5 separate regions of the Homo sapiens genome follow, and regions 1, 2, 3 and 5 are each linked to region 4. The links are contacts of gene promoters, found by promoter capture Hi-C in human tissues and cell types (Jung and others, 2019). All regions are on one chromosome and are shown on one strand. The core of a region is centred on a gene start or on the middle of the fragment in contact, and the rest is flanking DNA. Distances in the headings are between cores, read along the strand shown. Region 1 overlaps SCUBE1 (signal peptide, CUB domain and EGF like domain containing 1). Region 2 overlaps EFCAB6-AS1 (EFCAB6 antisense RNA 1). Region 3 overlaps SCUBE1 (signal peptide, CUB domain and EGF like domain containing 1). Region 4 holds the start of MPPED1 (metallophosphoesterase domain containing 1). Region 5 overlaps SCUBE1 (signal peptide, CUB domain and EGF like domain containing 1).

The links. Contacts are between HindIII fragments. The study calls those that stand out against the background at their distance.
Region 1: a contact is called between a fragment that was not itself captured here and the fragment with the promoter of MPPED1 in region 4, in 2 of the 25 tissues and cell types used here (bladder and mesendoderm cells).
Region 2: a fragment that was not itself captured here is called in contact with the fragment with the promoter of MPPED1 in region 4 in 4 of the 25 tissues and cell types used here (IMR-90 fibroblasts, dorsolateral prefrontal cortex, lymphoblastoid cells and 1 more).
Region 3: a contact is called between a fragment that was not itself captured here and the fragment with the promoter of MPPED1 in region 4, in 3 of the 25 tissues and cell types used here (dorsolateral prefrontal cortex, neural progenitor cells and thymus).
Region 5: a fragment that was not itself captured here is called in contact with the fragment with the promoter of MPPED1 in region 4 in 6 of the 25 tissues and cell types used here (H1 embryonic stem cells, IMR-90 fibroblasts, liver and 3 more).

Annotation. Positions count from the first base shown.
Region 1 is chr22:43,292,477-43,295,300 of GRCh38, forward strand. The region is part of intron 3 of SCUBE1 (signal peptide, CUB domain and EGF like domain containing 1); the gene reads right to left. Among named protein-coding and RNA genes, the nearest start is that of SCUBE1-AS1, 18 kb to the left of the region's middle. RefSeq lists enhancers at 689-1,206, 1,267-1,561. The HindIII fragment of the contact is 5,423 bases long and covers 1-2,824 here.
Region 2 is chr22:43,525,873-43,528,572 of GRCh38, forward strand. All of the region lies in intron 2 of EFCAB6-AS1 (EFCAB6 antisense RNA 1), which reads left to right. Among named protein-coding and RNA genes, the nearest start is that of EFCAB6-AS1, 11 kb to the left of the region's middle. RefSeq lists an enhancer at 1,821-2,320. The HindIII fragment of the contact is 6,308 bases long and covers 1-2,700 here.
Region 3 is chr22:43,337,410-43,340,109 of GRCh38, forward strand. SCUBE1 (signal peptide, CUB domain and EGF like domain containing 1) reads right to left here. Exons shown (of 22, transcript NM_173050.5): 2 at 1,695-1,826. Among named protein-coding and RNA genes, the nearest start is that of SCUBE1, 4.6 kb to the right of the region's middle. The HindIII fragment of the contact is 5,295 bases long and covers 1-2,700 here.
Region 4 is chr22:43,410,641-43,413,478 of GRCh38, forward strand. MPPED1 (metallophosphoesterase domain containing 1) reads left to right here and starts at 1,374. Exons shown (of 7, transcript NM_001044370.2): 1 at 1,374-1,518. The HindIII fragment of the contact is 18,974 bases long and covers 1-2,838 here.
Region 5 is chr22:43,316,673-43,319,478 of GRCh38, forward strand. All of the region lies in intron 3 of SCUBE1 (signal peptide, CUB domain and EGF like domain containing 1), which reads right to left. Among named protein-coding and RNA genes, the nearest start is that of SCUBE1, 25 kb to the right of the region's middle. The HindIII fragment of the contact is 7,519 bases long and covers 1-2,806 here.

The DNA.
Region 1 (2,824 bases), core at 260-2,759, 120 kb before region 4:
TGTCATTTTAATAGGCAAATATATAAAACCACAAAGGCGGCGTGAGCTACTGGCTGCTTCTAGCCAATCCCCGGTCCCTAACACACACACACACACACACACACACACACACACACACACTCTTCGGTGTTGAGCTTTTGATACACTTCTTTTTAACATAGACATCTTTTACTATTGGAACCAAAAGGATGTGAAAAGGTAAAGAGTTGGTGACCTGCACTGAACTGGGAGAGGACTTGGCTGTGGAGCGATTTGAGCCAGGTCCTATTTAGACTCATGGACGACAGACCACTTTACCACCTAAGACACCACACGGCTGCCTTTGAGGCCGACAGCGAGGCCATTATTCTTTGGCAAGCTCAAATGTCAGCCGTGTGGGCAGTCAGAGGAGGCAGGCAGAGCTCTGAACTCTAAAAGCCGCCAGTGGTTACAGCTAAAATGGTAGAAGTGGCCCTCGCTGAGAGGAGCCAGGTGATCGCACCATTCTGACTGGGGAAGCCTGGGGAGGAGGGAGAGGGACTATCCTCAGCACCTTTCTCCATTCAACAAAGCCTTGCTTAGGACCCCCTAGGGGCCCAGTGCCCATGCCACCTTTGCTGGGCGCAGCCCCTAGGGGTGGCGAGTGGTCGCCTCCCTCCCCTCCAAGCCTCAGCCATGTCTGCCCCTGGGGTCTGTCTCCAGCCTGCACTGGACCATGAAAAGCACCAAGCCAGGCCCCGTGTCCTACTCATCCTGCTAACAACACAAAGCAAACATCTGTGAGTGTTTATTATGTGTTAGGCGCAGGCCCACGCGATCCTCACAGCTACCTGGGTGACAGGTCATGTTATTGACCCCATTTTACAGATGAGGACACGGAGGCTCCGGGAGCTGGAGTAGCTTGAGTAGAGTGACACAGCACACCAGAGTGAAGGCGGGACCCAGCCCTGCGGTCTGGCTGCAGAACACGCGCCTTTGGCCCCAGGCTAAGCTGGCTGCGTCAGCGCATGTGCTCAGACCAATGCTGCGAAGAGCCGGCTGCTCCTCACACGAGCTGGAGTCCAGTGTCAACTTGAGCACGTGCACGTCAGCCCCAGATGCAGCTTGCCGTGAGGAGCATCGGGAAGGACCCAGCATTCCTGGGGTTAGTCCCATCTCTGGGCCTATAAGACCCTGTAGAGAACTGTGCTGGCATACACTTAACAATGGGACCTGGACATGGGCAGCTGTCCCTGGGACTCAGTTCGGACCCCTCTCATGTCACGGTTGTTACCTTCCTTCTCATGGTTCTCAGATTCCCTGCTCTGCGCCTTGGCTTCCCCAGCCCTATTAAAGGTCCGACTGTAAAGCAAACCAAACAGACACAGACTCTCAAATGCTGAGTTCCCAGTGCAGAAATGCTACCTCATCCCTGTCACGAGGAAGCTCCCTGGCGCCGCCCATCTGCAGCCATCTGGCCTGGCCACTCCTCACCTCACTGAAAGCTTGAAGCAAAGGGCGGTTGACGTAAGGCATCTACAAACCCTCAGTGACCTGGCAGGGCGGCTGGGCCTTGGGACAGGGCTGTTTACTCTACTAGGGAACAATGACTCGCCAGTGCTGATGAATAATGGGAAACAAATGCAGGGCCATGTAAACATGTCTTGTCCCCACTCCCAAGTGATAAAGTCCTGAGATGAAGCAGGTGGGAAGAGGGGGCTGCCCCTCTGCACCCTTTTCCCACTGCGGTCCAAACAGGCCTCACCCCCGGCCCCCGAGGAGGGGAGGAAATCATGGCTGCCAAATCTCTTGGGTGGCTTGAGGCCATGACCAGCATCTCTAGGGAAGGGCCTGAGGCCCCACACACGCCTCTTGCACCCCTGTGTCTCCAGCACTTCAAGTGGGCCCCACACTGAGGTCTGAAGAGCATCCAACTGCAGCAGCTGGGTCTGTGAGATGCCGCCCATGAGCCCAGGACAGACTGGGCTCACTTGGAGGCCCTGGCCAGGCCTGGCAGGGCACTATGAGAAACAGTACTTTGGCCCTCTCCAAGAGGTGCTGTGAGCCCAGCACACACCGCCCCATGGTCCCCCAGCATTTGGCACACTCTATTATGAGAGGTGTCCTCATGGAAAAGGGGAACCCACACCTGGGAGTCAGGCTCCCTGAGTTCTGCCCCTGTCTTGCCCTGTAGCCTGTGGGCGATGCCCAGGCCTTATCCCTGGGAAGTGCTCCCAGAGCTTGAGGGATTGCAGACTGCGTCCTCCAGGAAGTCCTCCTGGAATGCCTGTGGTGTGTGCAGCCCTCCTCCTTCTCTGCCCCGTGGAACTGACTGTCAGTGCATGGATGGGTCCTGTGTGGCTGGCCCCGTGTGAGAATCCCAGCCCACCCCCAAGCCCTCACACAGAGGTGAGCGTTGAGGCTGGGCGGGGTTGCCAGCCTCACTACCATAAATAACGGCAATTGCTGCCAGCGAGGCCCCAGCTCAGGCATTATCTTAATAAATCCACACAACAGCTCCACACCGGGGGCATTATTCTTATTATCCCTGATTCTCAGGTGAGAAAACTGGGGCCTGGAGATGGAGAGAGATTTCCTCAAAGCTCTAAAAGAGGCAGAAAGAGAACTGGAAGCCCCATGAATCCAAAGCCCTCCCTCTCCTCCCGCAGGATTCAGCTGTGAATGACGACCCTTCAAGTCCGATGGCGGTAGTGACGAAGGTTCCCAGGTGCTGATGCTTACAAACCTCCCTGGCCCCTCCATGCCCACCTCTCCAAAGCCCAGTGCTCAGCCTCCTCCTCCGTGTAGTCTTTCTGGTGCCCAGCATAATTCACTCCACCCCGGCTTCCAGGCCAGGCCTGCCTTC
Region 2 (2,700 bases), core at 162-2,661, 120 kb after region 4:
GCAACCCTCCATCATGGTGGGGATTTTAATAGGTTACTTTGCAAATTTGGGGACACACTTTCAATTTCTGGGGTTGGAATAACAGCCGGCAGATGCCAAGCCTTCTTTCCAGAGCTCATTGAAAGCTCAGTGTCACCTGATTTGTTTTTACAGGGGAGACTGCATTTTAAAACTGTTATGTCAGAGTGTGGTGCCAGCAGTGCTGGTGGGACATGCATGGGAAGATCCAGAACTTGTTTTGCCAGAAGCTGGGAGATGTGGCCAAGAGAATGTGGGTCTGACCCCACAGCCACCTCCTAGTGCTATGGGGAGTCCAGCACTCACAGACTCCATCCACAGAGAAGCCCCCAACACCAGAGTTGCTCCCCAACTTGCCAGCACTCCCTGCAGAACCTGGTCAGCTTTCCTTCTGGGAAAGGGACCCAGAGGCTGTGCCCTGCCAGCATTAAAGCACCTGCTGTGTGCCAGGCTGGGGGCGCAGGTCAGTGTTCTCACCCTATGGGTGGAGTCTGGGCCCAGCAGTGGGTGCAGAAGGGAGTGACTCTCTCTGCCAAGCGGTGACAGCATCGAACGGGGAGCTCAGCCTCTGCCCAGGGGTTACAGGAGGATTGGAGCTGGGCCTCAGAGGAAGAGTACGCGGGCTGTGCAGATGAGAACAGAAGTAGTCCCAGAAGGAGGAGCCAGCAGGAGCCAGGGCTTGGAGGCAGGGATGTGGGCACAGGGCTGAGTGAGTCCTGGTGCTGCCTGCAGGGGAGCCTGCCCGCCCACCTTCAGGGCCTCTGACACTGGCTTGGGCTGTTACTCACTGTCTGGGCCAAATCCTGCAAGCTGTGAGACTCTGGAAAACTTCCGGTACCTCAGTTTCCTCATCTGTCAAATGGGGATGCTCACAGGAGTCTAAATGATGATGTGTGTGAAGCGCTGGGTTTGAGTCCCACACACCTGTGCTTACTGGGTGCTGGCACTGCCCTGTCCCAGCCTGAGCCCCGCACACCTGTGCTCACTGGGCGCTGATACTGCCCTGTCCCAGCCTGAGCCCCACACACCTGTGCTCACTGGGCGCTGATACTGTCCTGTACCATCCTGAGTCCTGCACACCTGTGCTCACTGGGTGCTGATACTGCCCTGTCCCAGCCTGAGTCCCGCACACCTGTGCTCACTGGCTGCTGATACTGCCCTGTCCCGGCCTGAGTCCCGCACACCTGTGCTCACTGACTGCTGGCACTGGCCTGTCCTCAGCCTGAGTCTGGCATGCCTGTGTTCACTGGGAGCTGACACTGCCCTGCCTCTGGCCGGAGTCTCAGGCTGGTGCCCCTGGCCCTCACAGGCCTTCCTTATTCTGGGCTGAAGCCTCTCTCATGGGAACATCTGCTGCCCACAGGCCCAGGTCCCACAACAAAGGTGACACAAGTGTGGTCCCACCATTTCTACAGATGAGGACGCTGAAGGGATGGGACCTGGTACAAAGTCACATGGAGGAGCAGCTGGGGTCCAGGGCGTCTCTGTCCCGTAATCACTGCATGGCCCTGTTGATGTGCCTACTCAGGGTCCCCTTCCCCTTCCCTGAACTTGGGGCTGCCTGAGCACCCCGTTCCCCCTGCAGCGGTCCAGCCTGAAATGAGGAGGAAACTAAGGACAGATGGAAACAAAGGTGACCCCAGGAAACATTTTCCAGGAAATAGAAGGCCTGCGCGGGCTGGGCGGGAGCCTGTCCTCCCAATCACACCCATCCAATGCGCGGCTCTGCCACTCAGGGAGAGATCTGCTCACCTCAGGGTGTGGCCTCATTTGGACCCTGTGCAGGGGCAGGGAAGGGCGTTTTGGTGGGCAAGGCCTGGGGCCCAGGTGGAGGGGAGGTGCTCCCCCCACACCCCATATCCTGCCTGCTGCTCCCCAGTTCCTTGGAGAACCTTCCAGAAGGTGGCAAACGCTGCCTGAGTCTCTCAGCTGAGTCACAGTCCATGAAAGCGGAGTGACGATTTTCAAACTTCTCTTGTCAAACCTGTCAGTTCCAAGGAAGGGCCCTCTCAGAACTGTCCCTGGTGGGGGTTACGGCCAGTGGCCACTAGGCTTGGGCTCAGGAAGGCGGAGGGAGGCCCAAAGCTCCAGGGGGTCTCACTCAGGCGTGAGTTGCTCTTCATGGAGTCAGGCTGGCTGGCATCCCTGAGCAAGACAGCGATGGGGCGGTCAGTGCCTGTGCCTCTAGGAGCAGAGACATGGCCACCCTGACTGCAGCAGGGGGCTCAGATGTCCTCTGATCCAGGACCCAGGAAGCTGGGGGGTCAAAGGAGGCAGCAGTCCTTGGGTAATGGGGTGCAGGGCCCCAACTGCTCTGGACTGGAGGAGACACCTGGCAGGGGCCATGAACAAAACCTCCGGAAAGTCCAAGCTTTTAAGAATGTTAGCGCAGAGGCTCATGCCTGCAATCCCAGCACTTTGGAAGGCTGAGGTGGGTGGGTCACCTGAGGTCAGGAGTTCGAGACCAGCCTGGCCAACATGGCGAAACCCTGTCTCTATTAAAAATACAAAAATTAGCCGGGTGTGGTGGGTGCCTGTAATCCCGGCTACTCGGGAGGCTGAGGCAGGAGAATTGCTTGAACCCAGGGGGCGGAGGTTGCAGTGAGCCGATAGCGCCACTTCACTCCAGCCTGGGCAAAAGAGCCAAACTCCGTGTAAAAAAAAAAGTTAGCATTAGTAATT
Region 3 (2,700 bases), core at 91-2,590, 73 kb before region 4:
TTCCGGGACACTGGGTCTGGAAGGCAGAGTAGAGGGTCAGAAAGCGGTCACACCAGCCTCACATGTACCACTCGAACCAGCGAGCTAACCTCTGGCCCTGCCAGCAGCCGGGCCAGCCGCCCCACCAGGCTTCTCACTCATGGCCTCCTCTGTGTGCCTCCAGCCTGGCCTCCTTCCAGAGGTCTGTGGGTAGGCGCCAGCTCCCCACTTTGGGTTCTGGGCCCTGAGCGTGCCAGGAATATTACCCAACCAGGCATGATCCAGGGCGATGTCATCTGCCCAGCACTCAGCCTTAAATAAATGCTCAACAAATGTGAAGGATAAACACCACCAGCATCCCAGGGAGGAGTGGCTGCATCGCCCACAAAACTCTAGCCCTGTAAACGCCTTATACAGAAAGAGCAGGGACCCATCCTGTGCTCCCATGTCACTTTCCTAATACAAATATCAAACTTGGAAAAATTCAGCTGGCAGGGCCCAGGGAGAAGAAAACTAGCTGCCAGAGTTGTTGAGTGGGAGTTACAAGACCTGGATTTCAGTCCTTGTCATATCACTGTGAACATGGGAATCTTGCAAAAGATGCTTCTCCTGTCTGAGCCTCAGCTTTCCTCATTTATACGATGGGTGCAGACAGGGAAGACTGGGATCAGTGATCCCATCCAGGGGTGTCTGTCTGTCTCGGAGAGAGCTATTTCCAGCCCCCAGATGCCCAGTCCTGCCCCAGACCCATGGGGTGAGGACGGCCATGCAGACTCTCATGGACAAAAGCTCCAAAGGTTCCAATGGGCTTGCAGAGTCCTGGCACCAAACACAGCCAGAGCTGCTCTTTTCTCTCTAACTTTTAGCCTGCTGGGGAGGCAGTTTTTAATAGCAGGAGGGCTAACCAGCACCCCAGGTGCAGGGCAGAAAGGCTGGAGAGACAGATGGCACAAATCCACCAGTGTCTGTCCAAGCACTGGAACTTGAGACAGAGACCTACAGGGTGGTTTTGAACTTGACGTTAGGGACTCTGGGGGTCGGGGGGCAAGCCCAGGTCTTTGCACTCCACCCCCATATAGCCAGTCAAGGACAGATGCACAAATACCTCATTCAATGCTTCATCTTAATTTCTTTTTCTTTCTTTTCTTTTTTTTTGAGACAGAGTCTTGCTCTGTCGCCCAAGCTGGAGTGCAGTGGCGCCATCTCGGCTCACTGCAACCTCTGCCTCCTGGGTTCAAGTGATTCTCCTGCCTCAGCTTCACGAGTAGCTGAGATTATAGGCATGCACCACCACGCTCGGCTAACTTTTTTTGTATTTGTTGTATTTTCAGTAGAGATGGGGTTTTGCCATGTTGGCCAGGCTGGTCTCAAACTCTTGACCTCAGGTAATCTGCCTGCCTCGGTCTCCCAAAGTGCTGGGATTACAGACGTGAGCCACCGCACCCAGCCAATTTCTTAAAAAGAACAAAAAGTTTCAAGCCCAGTTGAGAATCAGGCACCCCATGACTCTAACTCCACCCTTCCAGGGAAGCAGCCGGCATTTCCGAAAAGTTCACTGCCTCCCTCCTGAGGCTGAGAGAAGCCTGTGCTGTCAGCAACCACAATGGTGGTGCTGGAGGCTCAGCCCCAGCTGGTGATGAATGGGGCAGGCATCGGCCACCTACAGCAGCCCTGGCAGCCTCAGGGTCTGCCCGGGAGGGCCGGGCTGGACTCACCTTCACACTGCTTGCCTTCCCCCTTGTAGCCTGGCTTGCAGAGGCATTTGTAGGACTTGGGCGTGTTCTGACAGATGGCATCGATGTGGCAGTCATCTGTGCCCTCTGAGCACTCATCCACGTCGACTGACCCTGTGGGTAGGGGTGTGGGGGGAATAAGAGGTAAGGTGTGGCCCCAGGGCAGGTGGCCGATAGTGTAGGGCAGGGGGAGCTCTTGCCTTTGCCCGTCCATTGATCGGTGGGCTCATTGGCAATAACAGCTGTCACAGGACAATCTGGTGTGACAAGTGGCAACTGGTAGCATCTTTGGCGCAGCTACTCTGTGGCAGGGACAATGCTATCAATACGCTTGGCCTTATTTATTGTCGCAACCATCCCATTGAGCTATTGTTCTGCTAAAAAGATGAGAAAACTGAGGCTTAAGGAGACAGTGAGGAAGAACCTCCTCCTCCGTCTGTCCTACTCCCCCAACAAGCATCACTCCAGCCCTCCCCTACTCTCCTCACTCTATCCCCTACTCTCCTTACTCTATCCCCCCACAAGCATCACTCCAGCCCTCCCCCATTCTCCTCACTCTATCCCCCCACAAGCATTGCTCCAACCCTCCCCCACTCTCCTCATTCTACCCCCCACAAGCATAGCTCCAACCCTCCCCCCACTCTCCTCATTCTATCCCCCCACAAGCATTGCTTCAACCCTCCCCCACTCTCCTCATTCTATCCCCCCACAAGCATCACTCCAGCCCTCCCCTACTCTCCTCACTATCCCCCCACAAGCATCACTCCAACCCTCCCCTACTCTCCTCATTCTACCCCCCCAACAAGCATAGCTCCAACCCTCCCCCCACTCTCCTCATTCTACCCCCCCCAAAGCATAGCTCCAACCCTCCCCCCACTCTCCTCATTCTAGAATTTAGAGCCAGAAGGGTCCTTGGAGGAGTTTAAATCTAGTCCCTTTGGGTTCCAGATGGGGACACCAAGGCCATGCCAGGAGGCTCCTGCAGGTC
Region 4 (2,838 bases), core at 124-2,623:
CTATGGCTCCCACTGCCCCTGATAAAGTCTATCCAAGGCTCTTCCCGATCTGGCTTCTGTTCCCTCACTCCCAGCCTTGCCACCTCATCTTCCCTCCCTTGCTTTTCCTTTGTCTCTAGCCCCAATGAACTCACATGCCAAGGCCTTTGCATGCCGCATTCCCTCGGCCTGGATGTCTTTTCCAGGCCTTCTCTCCTGGCATACACTCATTCAACTGGGCTGTCCCCACCTCCAGGAAGCCACACCAGATAGCAGTCCTCAGGGGCAGAATAGGCCTGAGGGGCCCGCAGAGGGTGTCCTTGGGGATTGTGTGATGTGTGTGTTGGTGAAGGGAGACCCTACAAGCATTTGTTGAGGGGCTTTGGGCCTCTGAGGAGCCACAGCCCCTTTTCATCTTCCTCTCAGTCTGGGAGGCCCAGGCCAGAGTGATCTGCACCCTAACTATACAAGGCCCTGGAATCCCCGTCCCACCCGCGGCAAGGGGCTGGAAGCCACAGGGCCTTAAACTCCCCAGGGTGACCCCCGACACTGAAGGCGATGGTCTCTGCTCTTCCCAGCAAGGCAGGGCCTCTTTACACTGGGTGTCGCGCCGTCTGAGTTCCTGACTTGTTTACCCATCCCGTTGGGGCTCCGGCCGCTGCAGGCTACCTGCTGTGCCCGGGATTGGGGACCTGTGACTCCCGAGTGGAAGAGATGGTGGCCCAGGAGGAGGACCCCGACCTATTCAGACTGGGAGCTGGGGTCAGAGTGTCTCCGTCTCCGGAGGGGGACCTTCCAGACCCCGGGCGGGAGGGGCCCACAGCAGGGTGCCCCGGCGGCCCCAGGAGGGGGTCCGGGCCTCGGGCGAAGGCTGCGGCGCCCCGGAAGGAGCCGCGCACGCCCCTGCACGCGGTGCCCGCTGCGGAGGCCACGGATCCGGAGGTGAGAGCGCCCCCGCCCCGCTCCCTGCCCAGCCCGCGCGCGGCCCGGTCCGGGGCTGGGGGCGGGCGCCAAGAGGGGCGCCGGGCGCAGTGGGGCGGCCCCCTCCCTTTTCCGCAGCGCGGGCCCCGCTCCTCCTCCCGCGTCCAGGCCCGCGGCCGCGCTCCCTGTCCCTCCGCAGCGGGATGCGGACTCCGAGCCCGGGCGGGGGCCGAGGGCCGAGGCCTGGCGGGCCTGGCGGGGGCCCCGGCGGGTGGCGGCGCAAGGGCCGGGACCGAGGCCGCGAGCGCGCCCCTCCCGGCGGCCGGGCGCGGAGAGGCGGGGAGGGCGGGCGTGGGGAGGCGGGCGGCGGCGGGCGGGGGGAGCCAAGGAGGCTCGGAGCCTCGCGGCGCGCGGGCGGGCGGCGGAGGGGGCGCGGGGAGCCCCCCGCCCCACGAAGGAGGAGTCTGGCTCCCACTTGCAGCCTCGGACGCGCGGCGAGGCGGCCGCCGCCGGAGGAGCCCCCGCCCCTGCGCGCCTCCCTCCCGGGAGCCCCTGCCTCCCTCGGTGCGCGCTGCTGCTCGCAGCCGCCGCGGCCGCCGAAGAGGAGCCCGGGGCCAGGTAGGACCGGAGGCGGGCGGGGCGCGGCGGGCGCGGGCGGGAGGCCGGGCGCGGGGCGCGGCCGGGACCCTCTCCAGGCGCTGGGCGACGCCCGCGGCGCTGCGCAGGGGCGCCCGCAAAGTTACTTTGGCCGCCTTTGCCGGGTGCGGGAAGCGGGCTGGGCACCCCAGCTGCCCCGCCTGCCTAGCGGGCGGCGGCGGGAGGGGGCTCCGCCAGGGCGCGGGACTCCGGCTGGGGCCGCGGGGTCAGCGAAACTTTTCCCTTGCTCGCCAGTCGCTGCTGCTGCTGGCGGAGTAGCTGGTGGAAGCAGCGGGCTGGTGGAGTGCCAGTGATGATGATAGTGGTAACAATAGCAGCCCCCGCTTGTAGAGAGCCTACTGTGTGCGCTGCCAAGCCCCTGCTGGCACTTGGGGGGGAAGAGATAGGGAACGAACGCTGGCCGAGTGGCCACTTTTGCTAGGTATTGCTGGAAACTTCATCCATTTCCTTCCATCCATTCATCCCTCCCTCCCATCCATCCATCCATCCATCCATCCATCCATCCACTCACTCAACACATATTTATTCCTGTCTGCTATGTGCTCGGCCAGGGGATTCAGTGGCTACCTAGACAGGTCCCAGCCCTCAAAGGGAATGTTGATCATGGAATGCCCAAACTAAGGAGCAGTTCTGTCTCCTGTGTGTTTGTTCTGGGACATGTTACGGGAGCGTGAATTCATGCTGTCTCCCTTCACCCTGGCAGGGCCAGAGGCGTGTCATTCAGAGCACTGATGTGCCCAGGAGTCTGGCAGGCCCCGGCCTGGCCTTCGGAACTCACCCTGCTCCTTTCCCTCCCACCTCTCCGGGCTCAAGCTGGGTGGCCCAGTTGGTGTCAGGAGGCTCCACTCCGGAACTGGCCCCCACCCCTGTCCAGCTGACCTCTCTGGGATGTCTCTTCCCCAGTGCTGGGCTGGCCTGGCTCCCAGCTCCCCTCCCAGAGTTTCTTTGCCTTCCCCCTCCCCATTTCCCCTGCTCTATTGAATGGCCCAGAGGAGAGCTTGTTAAGTGGCAAACAATTATGAAATTAAACTGGGGGAACAAAAGTGGGCTGGCTGTTGAATGGCGGAGCTGGCTCACGGGAGTTGAATGGCACTGGGAGACTTGTTAGCAGGGATCTGCGGCGCCGGGGGGCGGGGGCGGGTCAGGCAGACAGGCACTGTCAATAATCTGACTGGACTTTGCAAAAAAAAAAAAAAAATTAAACCAACTTGGTGAGAAACCTGGCACAGGGCGATGTTGGAGAGGCCACCAGCTGACTGCCACGTCCAGTCGGAAGCCAGA
Region 5 (2,806 bases), core at 285-2,784, 94 kb before region 4:
TCTAGCAAACTTATCCCCAACCTTGGAGGTTCCACTCAATGCTACCTTCTCTTTGAAGACCCCTAGGGAGTTAGCCCCGCTTCTACCCCCACACTCACTGCATCCATGGGTAGCTCTTCACAGGCCTCTCTGGGCTTCAATAACCTGATGCTCGGACCTCTACTTGGGTATTTATTCGGGGTGTAATTACATGCTCACAGATGTTTTCCACAACAAACTTATCTGACATCCAACATGGGTTGGACAAAAACAGGCAGGCAGGTCTAAGGCTAACACCCCATTAAGAGGGAAAGTTCCAGAGCACTCAGGACACCCAGTATCCTCTACCACACACCCACAAACCAGCTGGCACAACAGAAGCTTTGCTGAGCCCTTTTAGAAAGCCATAAAAAACCAAATGGTCGTTTGATCCAGTGGTTCCACTTTTGTGAAGCATTCCTAAGGAAACGATTGGGAAAACAGGGGAAAAAAATGTTTTATGCCCAGAACCACCTCTGGATTCTCATGGTAAAAAACAAAAAAGCAAACAATCTAAATGTCTAACCACAGAAAGGCAGCCGAGTCAGCTGGAGTAGTAATGCCTGCGTTGACTATTTAGCACCTAATAGGGGCTAGTCACTTCACACTGTCACCTCATCCTCACACGCGATCTTGGGAAGTGGATTACGCAGTTATCCCTGTTGGAGACTGGAGAAGACTGAGGCTCAGACACCATGTAGATAGTAACAGTTCTCGGCTGCTGAGAGTCCCCTGTGCCGAGCCTTTTTCTCGGCCATCTGGACATTATCTCAGTCACTGCTCACGACAACCCTGTGAGGAAGCTGCTTCTCATAGCCTCCCTCTACCAACAAGGGCCTGAGACCCAGACAATCAATAATGTATCTACGGACATGCTCCTGCCAAATCCATGCCCATATCCCCTGGGCTCCAGTTGCTGTGCCCTGGTTACCCAGCAGCCAGTGGCAAAAGAGGGCCTTGGGGACAGACACGTCTGCTTTGAGAGCCACGTGTTTCCCATGACAAGATATTGTTCTTCTGTGACAGACTTTGAACTCCCTCTGTTACAGGTTGAATTATGTCCCTTCAAAAGATGTTGGATTCGCAGCTCCCAGTACTTGTGAATGTGACTTTTGTTGGAAATAAGGTCTTGGCAGATGTCCAGGTTAAGATGAGATTGTTAGGGTGGGCCTAATGCAACACGACTGGTGTCCTCATAAAAAAGGAAAATTTGGACACAGAGCCAGACACACATAGAGCTGAGACAATGTGAAGACAGAGGGAGGATGCCATCTATAAGCCAAGGAATCCCTGACATTACCAGAAGCTATGAGAAAGGCCTGGAACAGATGATCCCTTGCAGCTCTCAGAAGGAACTACCCTGCCCACACCTTGAGTTTGGACTCCTAACCAAGAGAATCCATTTCTGTTATTTAAGCCCTAGTTTGTTACTTTGTCATGGCAGCCCCAGGAAACTGATACAGGTTATTAGTAATTTGTCAGACTGTGGGGCAACTAGAAAAATAGTGGTAACAGGGGCCACATAAAAATACCTGAAGTAATGCCTGAGGTAAGGTGGCGGGTCAAGCCTGTAATCCCAGCACTTTGGGAGGTCGAGGTGGGCAGATCACCTGAGCCCAGGAGTTCCAGAGGCCTGGGCAATATAGCAAGACCCTGTCTCTACAAAAAAACCCAAAAGTTAGCCAGTAGCAGTGGAATGTGCCTATGGTCCCAGCTATTCTGGAGGCTGAGGTGGGAGGATCACCTGAGTTCCAGAGGTTAAGGCTGCACTGAGCCATACTGTACTCCAGGCTGGGTGACAGAGTAAGACTCTGTCTCAAAAGAAAACCAAAATGCCTGAGGTACGCATGATATTAAAGGGAACAGCAAAGGGCAAATGCATGCTGACTATCTGATCACCACTATGGTAAAAACACACTTGGATGCAGGTGGAAGACTGATAGAAAACACACCAGCACAACTAAGACGCCTGCCAATTTCTTCTCCCTACTCTTCTCCTTTTTTCCAATTTGATTCAGCAAATGTGGACTACTCTTGTAATTATTTTTTTGTTTTTGAGATGGAGTTTCACTCTTGTCGCCCGGGCTGGAGTGCAATGGTGTGATCTTGGCTCACTGCAACCTCCGTCTCCTGGGTTCAAGTGACCCTCCTACCTCAGCCTCCCAAATAGCTGGGATTACAGGCATGCGCCCAACTAATTTTTGTATTTTTAGTAGAGACAGGGTTTTGCCATGTTGGTCAGGCTGGTCTTGAACTTCGGACCTCAGGTGATCCACCCGCCTTGGCCTCCCAGAGTGCTGGGATTACAAGTGTGAGCCACCACACCCGACCTCTTATAAATTTTATACAATTGGCTTAAAAATGTATTTGGACCATGAGAAGATGGAGGTATATAAAATCATGGGCCAAATTGTGTCACTTCAAAATTCCTTTGTTGAAGGAATTCAACACCCAGTACCTCAAAACGTGACTGTATTTGGAGACAGGGCCTTTAGAGAGATAATTAACTTAAAAATGGAGTTTGTAGAGTGGGCCCTACTCCAATATGACTGTGTCCTTATAAGAAGAGAAGATTAGGGCCAGGCGCAGTGGCTGGCCGGGCAAGGTGGCTCACGCCTGTTATCCCAGCACTTTGGGAAGCCGAAGCAGGCGGATCACAAGGTCAGTAGCTCGAGACCAGCCTGGCAACCATGGCGAAACTCAGTCTCTACTAAAAATACAAAAATTAGCCAGGTGTGGTGGCACGCCTGTAATCCCAGCTACTTGGGAGGCTGAGGCAGGAGAATCA